Linked DNA regions of Homo sapiens: region 2 is linked to region 1. The links are contacts of gene promoters, found by promoter capture Hi-C in human tissues and cell types (Jung and others, 2019). All regions are on one chromosome and are shown on one strand. The core of a region is centred on a gene start or on the middle of the fragment in contact, and the rest is flanking DNA. Distances in the headings are between cores, read along the strand shown.

Region 1 (5,295 bases), core at 1,933-4,432:
TACTTTGCCTTATGCATCTCTTCAATTTGGCTGTGCCTGAGATGTATCCTATATAATAAGCCAGTAAACATAAGTATTTCTATGAGTGCTGTGAGCCATTCTAGCAAATTATCGAACCTGAATAGGGGGTCATGAAAACCCCCAGTTTATGTAGCTGGTCAATCAGAAGTACCAGAGATCCAGACTTGAAATTGCCATCTAAAGCAGAGACACCTTATGGCACTGAGCCCTTAAATGGAAGGATCTGACACTCACTCCAGGTAGATAGAGGCAGGATTAAACTGTAGGATACCCAGCTGGTATTCAGAGAGCTGGAGAATTGCTTGGTAATTCTCCACACATCTGGTGGAAAAAATCCACACATCTGGTGTCAGAAGTGTTGTGTGAGAGTGAAGAGAAACAGTTTGTTTTCCCAGACTCACTCTCTTTGATCACTCCATCCAGAAATGATTCAGTTCCCTCTCTTCAGGGACCATGGTTTAGACAGGGTCCTGTTTCATGGATAAAAGAACTACAGGTTTAAAGAAGCTAAACAATTTGCTTGAGGTTCATCCTCCTGAACAGTACTTGTTACTTCTATTACATCTTTTTAGGCAGCTCATTTTCCCACCCCAGTAACTTTTAAAGACTACAGTTGACCCCTGAACAACACATTTGAACTGTGCAGTTCCACTTATATGTGGATTTTCTGCCTCTGCCACCCCGAGACAGCCCCTTCTCCTCCTCAGCCTACTCAACCTGAAGACAAGAATAATTACGTCTTCCTCTACTTACTATGTCTTGCCTCTCATCCACAGTCACTCTCTCCACCTTTTTGTCTATTTACTCCAACCTGACATCCACCCACATTACTCAACTGTTAACTGCCATACCAGTGTCACTGTGAAATCTGTCCATTAGGATCGACACCATTTCTGGATCTGGCCACCCTTTGATTCTTTAATCACAGTAGCAAATAAATTTTAGGATCCGGACAAACAGGTCAGTAACCTGGCAAAGGCTTTCACATGCCCCGAATTTATTCCCTGGAAGATGCAATGTTCAACCAAAATTTAGATACTGCCTACATAGCTTTCATCCCTCAATCTGAAAGCAGACAACTTCAAGTGTCTGTGTGGGCCTGAGCACTAAATTGACATTGCTTATATTGGGAGTAGATGAACTTAAGAGGTTTGCCCCACGGCCTAGAATTGAATATTATAACACCAATACAGTTTAATACTGAAAATAGCTATAACTTACATAATGCTATATTCCAGGTGCTACTCTACTCTATGAGATTTAAATGTATTAATCAGTCAAACTTTTATAAGGAATTTCCAGGTCATCTGCTCCACCAGAATACTGAGAGAGACAGAGAGAGGATACACATGCATGTGTGTGAACCCCAAGAGGGCCTGGGCATTTACAACCTTCTGCTATTCAATCCCATTAGCTCTGGGATGGAGTTCTGTGTTGATCCTTTAAAAAATGAGGCATCTCTTTCCGAAGATTTGAGACACATGGAACAAACCATTTGGCTACCCAGGGGGAAACAATCCTTGAAGTAGGAGAATGTACATATATGGTTCATATTTCTTAAGTGCAAACATGCAAATCTTTGTAAAAAAAAAAGCCCTGGAATAGTCCTCATAAATTTATTAATATTTATTTCCATAGTAGCTAAAATAATGACATGGTTACTGGAAGAGAAATTCTGCCCCAAACAGTCACCAAGAACTTCCAAGCTGCTGCATTCAGTGGAAGTTTGTTCTCATCTCCCCTGACCGAGCAGCAGCATCCGATAAAGTTGGCCATTCCTTTTTTTTTTTCCACACACTTCTTTGGCTTCTGTGACCAATTTTGGTTTTCCTCCTGCCTTCTTGGCTGTTCTTTTTGTCTTCTTTGCTGACTTCACTCTCTCTACCTGACGTTTAAATGTTAAATTTCTCAGGTCTCTAATCCTTGGTTCTCAACTCCTCATTCTGCACGCTCTCCCTTGGTGATTTCAACCCCACTCCTGGCTTCAATTACTATAAATCTGCCAAAATTTATACATCTAACCCCTACTGCCATTCTTAGCCCAGAACTGTTTATCTAAAGCATATCTCACATCTCAATTTCTCTCACAGGTACTTCAAGGTCAATTAGTACATAACTGAACTCTTAATCTTGCCCTGATATCCTGTTGCTCCTGACAGAAATGTGGTTCTGACTTGGACACAACCTTCTTTTTCAACATATCCCCAATCTGTCACCAACAGGCAACCTCATTATTTTTCAAATCTGTCCACAGTCCCTGAGCCCCACCTCCACTGCCACTACTGTAGGCTAATCCTTTGGGATGAAATTCAAAATCATTACTCAGCAGCCTGCATGATCTGTCCATCGCGCACCTCAGCAGCTCGGTTTGTGCCCACATCTCTCTTGTTCTCTAAGCAGGGTTTTGCGGTTTCTCAACCATTTCAACTTTGTTCTCACTTCAATTCTTTCTCTCCTGCTGTTCCCTGTTCCTGAAAAGCTACTTGTCCAGTCCTTTGCTTGGGTAGCTCTTTTCCATCTTCTAGGCTCGGAGGGGAAAAGGGCACTTCCTTAGGCAGCCTTTCCTAGCCCTGGGCTAGGTTAGCTTTCATTCGAGTGCTGTCATTCCATCTAATATTGGCACACTGTTAAATATAGCTGTGAGATGATCTGTTCAACTGTAAGCTCCTTGGGGTTTCGTGTCTGCCCTGTTTTCTAGGGTTTCCAGCTTGTAGCTGGGTGCCTGACTCATAATAGGTGTTCCATAAATGCTTGTTGAATGAAAGAATGATGATGGAGGTGGTATTCCAACTCGGGACTGCCTCAACGCCCGGCGCTGTCTCCTCTGCTACTCTGTTTCGGTGTTTTAGCAGAGGCAGATAGTGAGGGCGGCACAGTGCCCACGGCATGCCGCTGGACTAAGCGCTAAGCGGGCTTGGGATGATGCGCACGCGGGGGGTCTGAGCCAGCCAAGGGGCCGGGCGCCGCCTGGGGGCGCTGCGGCTGCTGCGGGACGCACCAGGCCTAGTCGCCCGCAGGCTCCGCCCGAGGAGCAGCCCAGCCACCCCAGGGCCCGGAGGACCAACCGCTTCGACCCGCGCCCGGGCGGCGGCAGTGTTGGCCGGCGAGGCGAGGAGGGCCGGGCCGCCACGGTGGGGCGAAAAGCCCTGAAAGTTCCTCTCAGTTCCTTCCGGTGCGCCTCCCGCTCGCCCTTGCGGAGGCCCTGAGGGCGGATTCAAGGCCCCGCGAGAAGCCATCTGAGGCGGCGACGACTGTTCTCAGCCCCACGGGAACGCCGCGGACGCAGCGTCCCTCTCCCGGACAAGAAAACAGCCATTCTAGAGTAGGTTCCTCCCCTTTCCTTGTTTTTTCCCCTTTCCCGTGCCCATGGCTGACGCGAGCTGCTTTTGGACGTGGGTCCCGGGCTTGACTGGACAGACGTGGGTTCTGTTTCTGAAAGGCGTAAAACCTCAGACTTGTCCTGCAACCTCCTGGTCTCCGTTTTTGCCTCTATAAAGTGGGCATAACAAGGTCTGACTCACTGACCTGGGGTCTCAGGTGTGGCGCCCAAACCAGCACTATCAGCATTTCCTGTAACTTTACTAAAACGCATATTTTCTGGCCCCACTACAGCTCATTGAATCAGAAACTCAGTGGTGGGATTCAGCGATTTGTATTTGAACAAGCCCCAGGTGATTTTGATACAAGCTAAATTTTGAGAACCACTATATAATAGAGACCAATCAGATGAAATAAATCAAACCATTATATAGTAAAGAACCTGGCTCAATAAATAGTAGTTGTGGTTATTATTATTTCAGGAATAGACAGGCATTCATTGGCACAGAAATTGAAGGTTAAGCAAATGCTTCTTTCCTTTTCTTTTTCTTTTTTTTTTCTTTTTTTGAAACAGTGTTTTTCACACTTGTTGCCCAGGCCACCGCAACCTCCGCCTCCTGGGTTCAGCCTCCTGTCTCAAGCCCCGCGAGTAGCTGAGATTACAGGCATGTACGACCACGTTTGGCTAATTTTGTATTTTTAGTAGAGACGGAGTTTCTCCATGTTTGTCAGGCTGTTCTCGAACTCCTGACATCAGTTGATCTGCCCGACTTGGCCTCCCAAAGTGCTGGGATTACACGCATGAGCCACTGCGCCCCACCCTTTTCTTTTCTTTCATGCAGGTCAGTATAGTCTTGCTTTAAAAAACTGAAAACAAAATAAATATCCATATGATTTGGATATTTATCCCCTCCAAATCTCATGTTAAAATAGATTCCCCAATGTTGGAGGTAGGGCTTGGTGCGAGGTGTTTGGATTATGGGGGTGGATCCCTCATGAATGGCTTGGTGCTTTCCTGGCAGAGTGAACTCTACCTCTGAGCTCATGAAAGATCTGGTTGTTTAAGAGTAGACACCTCCCCTTTCTCTCTATTGTTCCGTCTCTTACCATGTGACACACTGGCTCCCCTTCCCCTTCCGCCATGATTGTAAGCTTGGTCTCACAAGAAGCTGAGCAGATGCTGGTGCCATGCTTGTACAGCCTGCAGAATTGTGAGCCAAATAAACCTCTTTTCTTTATAAATTATGCAGTCTCAGGTATTCCTTTATAGCAACACAAACAGACTAACACGAACATATACAAAAGAATGCCTCTCCAACAACAAAATAGGTATGTAACAGTAGCTTCTCACAGATAAACTTAACGTTTCTTTTTGACATACATCTTCTTGTCTTTTGAATTCTTTGAAAAGCAGAACATGGTTAATGATAAAGGTTTTATAATTTTAATTATTTTAATTCAAATTTCAGTTTTCATATACTGCAGTTATTTTTAATTTGAAAACTATAATGGTTGACCATGAAAAATTAATCTTATGTAGGTGAAAGGTACAGATTTATTTCTAGACAAATCCAGTTTCATTGGCATGTCAGATTTTATTGATAATCTTTTCCTTCTTATTCATTGCAGAAGCTTCAAAAAGGACACACTAGATTTAATTAGAAATGTTAAGATTGCCCAAAAAAGGATTACCTAGATTTGAGCAAGTTCAGGATGAAGACACCTACCTGGAAAATTTAGCAATACAAAGAAATGCATCTGCTTTTTTTGAAAAATATGATCGGAGTGAAATACAAGAGTTACTAACTACTGCACTAGTTAGCTGGTTGTCTGCCAAAGAGGATGTGCGCTCTCAAGTAGACCTCCCATGTGGAATTATGAGTCAAATGAATAACGTAGGCTTCTCCACTGCAATCCTACTGACTCCCGTGGACCCTACTGCCCTCTTAGACTATA
Region 2 (5,295 bases), core at 847-3,346, 200 kb before region 1:
CTACCATTACCCACAAAGACAATCACTCTCAAATCTTTTAGCTGAAGTTTTTATTTAACTCTGAATCTCTAAGAAATCTCTAAGAAATGTTTATATTTCTAATTATAGGTTTTTCAGATTTAGGTATTATCTGTTAACTCTGATCTATTGACGCTGAATTTTTAGCTGTTTTTCACATCAGCACTCCCTGCATATACACAACACACACTTTCCCTACTTGTCCCCCAATTTTCCCCATATGGGTAAATGTTAAATTGGTTAGTTCAGTAGTCATTGTCATAGCTGTGTTAACACAATTCATAGCCAAGCCATGTAGTAATAGGCAGATTGTTTTTCCTTTTGTGACCAAGTTTTTATTTTCTGTGGAGTTAATGATTGCCTTGTTTTTTCATTTGCTTAGTTTTCTATTCTCATGTAATTCAACCCCAAATTCTGCTCAAGTTGTGTAAGTATTCTCTCAGTGTTTTCAGATACATTAGGTATTCTTTCAAGTCATAAAGGATTATTTCCAAGAGCCTTCTGACTGTCTTCAGTCTGGACTGATTGCTCTGGAAACCTGCTACACAGTAGTCATCCTAGGATCTATATTCACCATCATTCTGGGGATTTGTTTGACCTCTACTCTATTAGTGGTGTGGTTTTTCTCTTTCTTTGGTCACTCCCCTGTTTTGGTGAAGCATTCTTTTAGTGCATTGGAGGTCAATTTAAGACCTTGCATGTTTGGAAATGTTTTTATTCTCTTTCACTTGATTATTATAGAGTTGTAGGTTGAAAATCATTCTCGCAGAACTTTGACATTATTGTCCTATTATTTTATAATTTCCATTATTACTAGAAGACCAATACCATTCTTGTTCTTGTTCCTTTGTCTGTAACTTGGCTTGTTTATTTTCCTTTAAAACTCATTGGATTAATTCAATAATTTTTTGTTAATTATTTACTGTACGCCAGGGACCATTGTAGACAGTTGGGATACAGTAGTGAGAAAAGTAGTCAAGTCTCTAAACTTGCGGTATTCACAGTCCACCAGAAGATAGAGACAGTAAACAACATGCATTAAGTAAAATATGGAGTAGAGAAGGTGGTAAGAATTGTGGTGGGGTAGAGAATAGACGAAAAGATGGCATGCATGGGATGCAGCTTGTAATTTTAAACAGGGAAGTCTACGTAGGCCTTATTGAAAAGATTCTGACTTTTTCTCTGAGTTACATATAGGGCCCCTTGGAGAGTTTTGAGTAGAGAACTAAGGAGGAGCTAATTACTTCTTTCTCTATTCTTTTTCTAGAACTCCTATTATTTAGTGCTGGACTTTCTAGAATGGTTCTCTATTATTCTTATTGTTTTGCCTATTTTTTGTTTGTTTTCTGGAAGATTTCCTCATCTTTATCATCAAATCTTTTTTTCTTTTTCATGGTCTGTTTCCATTACATTTTTTTTTGTTTTTGGTTTGTCTTGGTTGCTGCCTTTCATCTAGAGGTTTTCATCAGAGTCTGATGATTCTTGGCTGTCTTTGGATTTAAAAGTGGGTTAAAAAGCCACTTGGAAGTTCTCTGCCTGTGCAGAACTTATCCCTTGGCTTCCACTATCTGAGCTAATTTATTGAGACAGTCTCAAATGTCATTACAATTGACCCTTGAACAATGTAGAGATTGAAAACCTATGTATAACTTTTGACTTCCCAAAACTTAACCTGAAGCCTTACTGATAACAGTTATTTGTATTATATGTATTATATACTGTATTCTTACAATAAAGTATGCTAGAGGAAAAAAAAAAGTTAAGAAATATCATAAGGAGGCCGGGCACGGTGGTTCTTGCCTGTAATCCCACATTTTGGAAGGCCAAGGCAGGTAGATCACTTGAGGTCAGGAGTTCGAGACCAGCCTGGCCAACATGGCAAAACCCCATCTCTACTAAAAATACAAAAATTAGCCAAGCATGGTGGTGCATGCCTGTAATCCCACCTACTCGGGGGCTGAGGCAGGAGAATCACTGGAACCTGGGAGATGGCGGTTGCAGTGAGCCTAGGTCACACCACTGCACTCCAGCCTGGGTGACAGAACAAGACTCCATCTCAAAAAAAAAAATTATAAGAAAGAGAAAAATATATTTATTCATTAAGTGGAAATAGATCATCACAAAGGTCTTCATCCTCATCTTCACATAGAGTAGGCTAAGGAAGAGAAGGAGTTGATCTTGCCATCTCAGGTCTGGCAGAAATAGAAGAAACTCCACATAGACGTGTTATTCGAACCCTTGTTATTCCAAGGTTAGCTGTATCTTTAGGTCTTACTTAGGCTGGTCAAATTAACCATAAAAAATTCTATGCGTTCCTGCCTAAAGGATTTAGACCTACCTGTCAGTGTTCTGAGAACCCCCTACATGAAGTACAACTGCCTAGATATGAAGATACCACCACCACCACCACCGCTATCCATACCTAGCCTAAAGATGTAGAGCCCTCTGCTGGGGCTGAGGAGGAGCTGTGGGGTGCTTTCTAAGTAGACTTTCCACCAGCCCGTCTGGTTTGTCTAGTCCCATTTTCACCCCACATCCAGAGTTACTATTATTACCAACTCCTGAGCATTTGCAGGATTCTGTAGTATGAATTGGGATGCTTCTTGGCTTTCCCTACAGCCAGCTTAGAATTGTGCTTTCTCAGGTCTACTAAGTTCAATACCATCCTTCAGCCTGCTCTCCAGTTTCCAACATGTTACTGTTAAGGCCTTTTCCCTCATTTTCTATCATTGTGAGTATGTGCCCTTTGAAAACCCTTTTGCTGTCATTTTTGTGGGATTTGGTGAAGAAGCAGTGGTAAATGCATGTATTATTCTGTCATCTAAGTGTTCACTGTTAGCTCTTCTCATAAGTGGGATGCTAGGCCTCAGTTGCTTTCTCTGTGAAATGAGAGGATCATACTAACTGGATAATTTGTAAAATTCCTTTCATCCCAGACTTTTTATGATTCTGTAGTACTTACTGTTAAGTCAAACACAGTTCTTCCTTTTTTCTGAAATAATTTCTCTTTGTCTTAAATCCTTAAAGCTGCTAGCAGAAGAAAGTCTTCCCACAACCCCATTTTATTTCATATTGGGAAAACACAGGCAACAGCAGGATGAAAAACTAAACGAAACTTTAGAGAATGAGCTGGTACAACTACCCTTAACAGAAAACATACCCGCAATTAGTGAGGTAAGTAATTATGAAAACCATGTGAAACAGATTAAATGCACTTAAAGCACCTGAAGTTGGAGTTTTGACACAGTCAATCTGTAATTTGTATGCTGTACAACTTTAATACCCAAACTAAATAACTAACAACAAACCGAGTAACTTAACCTTGTGATCTGGGATTGTTTTGTCCTGGACCTGGTGTAGGGATAGGGGTGGTTGTTGGCATAAATGTAGGAAGGTAGAAATGTATTTTTCTTTGGTTTGGCTTTTGTATAGGGAAAGCCTTTTCATGTTTCACTCTTGGCATTTACAATAAAAGGGACTCCGTGAGGACACTGTAGGAACAGACTGCGGTGGAGGATAAGCTTTTTAATTGCAACCGTGTTTTCTGTTTGACTCCAGCTTCTTCACACTCCAGCCCATGTCCTGCCATCTGCTGCTTTCCTGTGCTCCATGTTTGTAAATTCATTGCTGCTGTCTAAAGAGACTAAGAGGTAAAGCAGTTCTTAAGACAGGTTTGGACACTCTCTTTTGGGAAACAGGATCGTTTGTGTTTATCCTTTTTTAGAGTATTCTTCCACTGTATTTCTTTTTATTTCATAAGTTTTAAAATAGATTTAAAGGCTATAGGATTATTAAGTCAAGTAACATACATTGAAAATAAGTTTCAAAAAAGATCTTGTATGTGTGTGTTTTAAGGGCTTGGTACATAATTTAAAATTACATGTTTGTAAATTCACCTGCTCTTTTATAAATAACCCATAATTTTTAAAGTGTACTTAGTAACAAAATTCTTCATTTACTTTGTGTGATTATATTTCTACATAGGTGTCAAATTAGAAAGTTACTGTTTAGAAACATTTAATAGTGTTTATATTTTATTCTGTTATTGTTAAAGTGCTAAGGAAATTCCTGAAGATGTAGATATGGAAGAAGAAAAAGAAAGTGAAGATTCAGATGAAGAAAATGATTTTACCGAAAAAGTCCAGGATACAAGTAACACAGGTTTAGGAGAAGACATTATACATCAGTTGTCAAAATCTGAAGAAAAAGAACTGAGAAAATTTAGGAAAATAGACTACAGCTGGATAGCTGCCCTTTAAGCCTTGGAGATGGGGAGGATCCTTGGACTTTGTGTTTTTGATTGTATGTTGATATTCTAAAAACATCTATTTTAATGTTATTTCTGTTCTAAAAATAAGATAATAAATATTAACAAACTTTGCTTTTTTAAAAAACTGATAATATGAACATGTATTTGCATCATGCTTTACAGTTACTGGATCATTGATATACCACATCATCTCATTTTTTTATTTTGAGTCACACATCAGCCTTATAAAACAAGTAGGTATTTTCTTCACAGGTGATACAGCAGAACTGAGACTTGAACTGTACAGCATATGTCCCCTAAGCTGCAGTTTGGAGATACGAAAAGATTTGAAAGTTAAAAGGCTTTGTTGACATAATTGTTTTAACACAAATTCATTTGGTGGCCAAATGTGACCTGAGCTGGAGTGAGGTTTCTTTAGTCCTGATTTATTCCTCTTAGTGTATTTATTTCTCTCAGAGAAATTTAGAGACGAGTTGATTATGTGGTGTTCCACAAACCTCACTGAGGATATTATATAATAATATGGGCTGCCTAAAATTCTGAATTCAGATGATCTGACCCAAAGTCCAGTTGCTAGTAGAAAACGATCCAGATCCCCTGTTTTAGTTAAAGCAGTGAAGCTGCTACATCTTAACCACCTAGCATTTTGAGTTTTCCACTTCCCTAATGCACTTTTGTAAAATTTATATTTAGAAGTTAGCACAAAAACAAAGCGTTTGTAAGAGCACATCTCAATGAATGTTCACAAAAATTGCTGCAAATGGCTTTTTAGTTTGTGCTGTAGACCAAATGTTTGTTGTGCCCCCCTAAAATTCAAATGTTGGAATCTAATCCTCAATGTGGTATTTGGAGATGGGGCCTTTGGGAGATGATTAGGTCATGAGACTGGAGCCTTTGTGAATAGGATAAATGCTGTTACAAAAGAGACACTGGAGAGCTTCTTTGCCCCTTCTAACACGTGGGGATACAGCAAGAAGAAAACCATCTGTGAACTATGAAGTGGGGCC

Evidence for each region. Contacts are between HindIII fragments. The study calls those that stand out against the background at their distance.
Region 2: a contact is called between a fragment that was not itself captured here and the fragment with the promoter of ANKAR in region 1, in 2 of the 25 tissues and cell types used here (IMR-90 fibroblasts and mesendoderm cells).

Annotation. Positions count from the first base shown.
Region 1 is chr2:189,671,488-189,676,782 of GRCh38, forward strand. It overlaps ANKAR (ankyrin and armadillo repeat containing), which reads left to right and starts at 3,183. Exons shown (of 23, transcript NM_001378068.1): 1 at 3,183-3,343; 2 at 4,969-5,295. The coding sequence starts at 5,004. It overlaps LOC105373793 (a long non-coding RNA gene), which reads right to left and starts at 2,798. Exons shown (of 2, transcript XR_923692.3): 1 at 2,344-2,798; 2 at 1,633-1,906. RefSeq lists a silencer at 2,839-3,258 and an enhancer at 3,309-3,568. The HindIII fragment of the contact is 7,879 bases long and covers 1-4,731 here.
Region 2 is chr2:189,471,141-189,476,435 of GRCh38, forward strand. WDR75 (WD repeat domain 75) reads left to right here. Exons shown (of 21, transcript NM_032168.3): 19 at 3,046-3,192; 20 at 3,577-3,668; 21 at 4,073-4,412. The coding sequence ends at 4,277. Among named protein-coding and RNA genes, the nearest start is that of WDR75, 32 kb to the left of the region's middle. The HindIII fragment of the contact is 7,458 bases long and covers 1-5,295 here.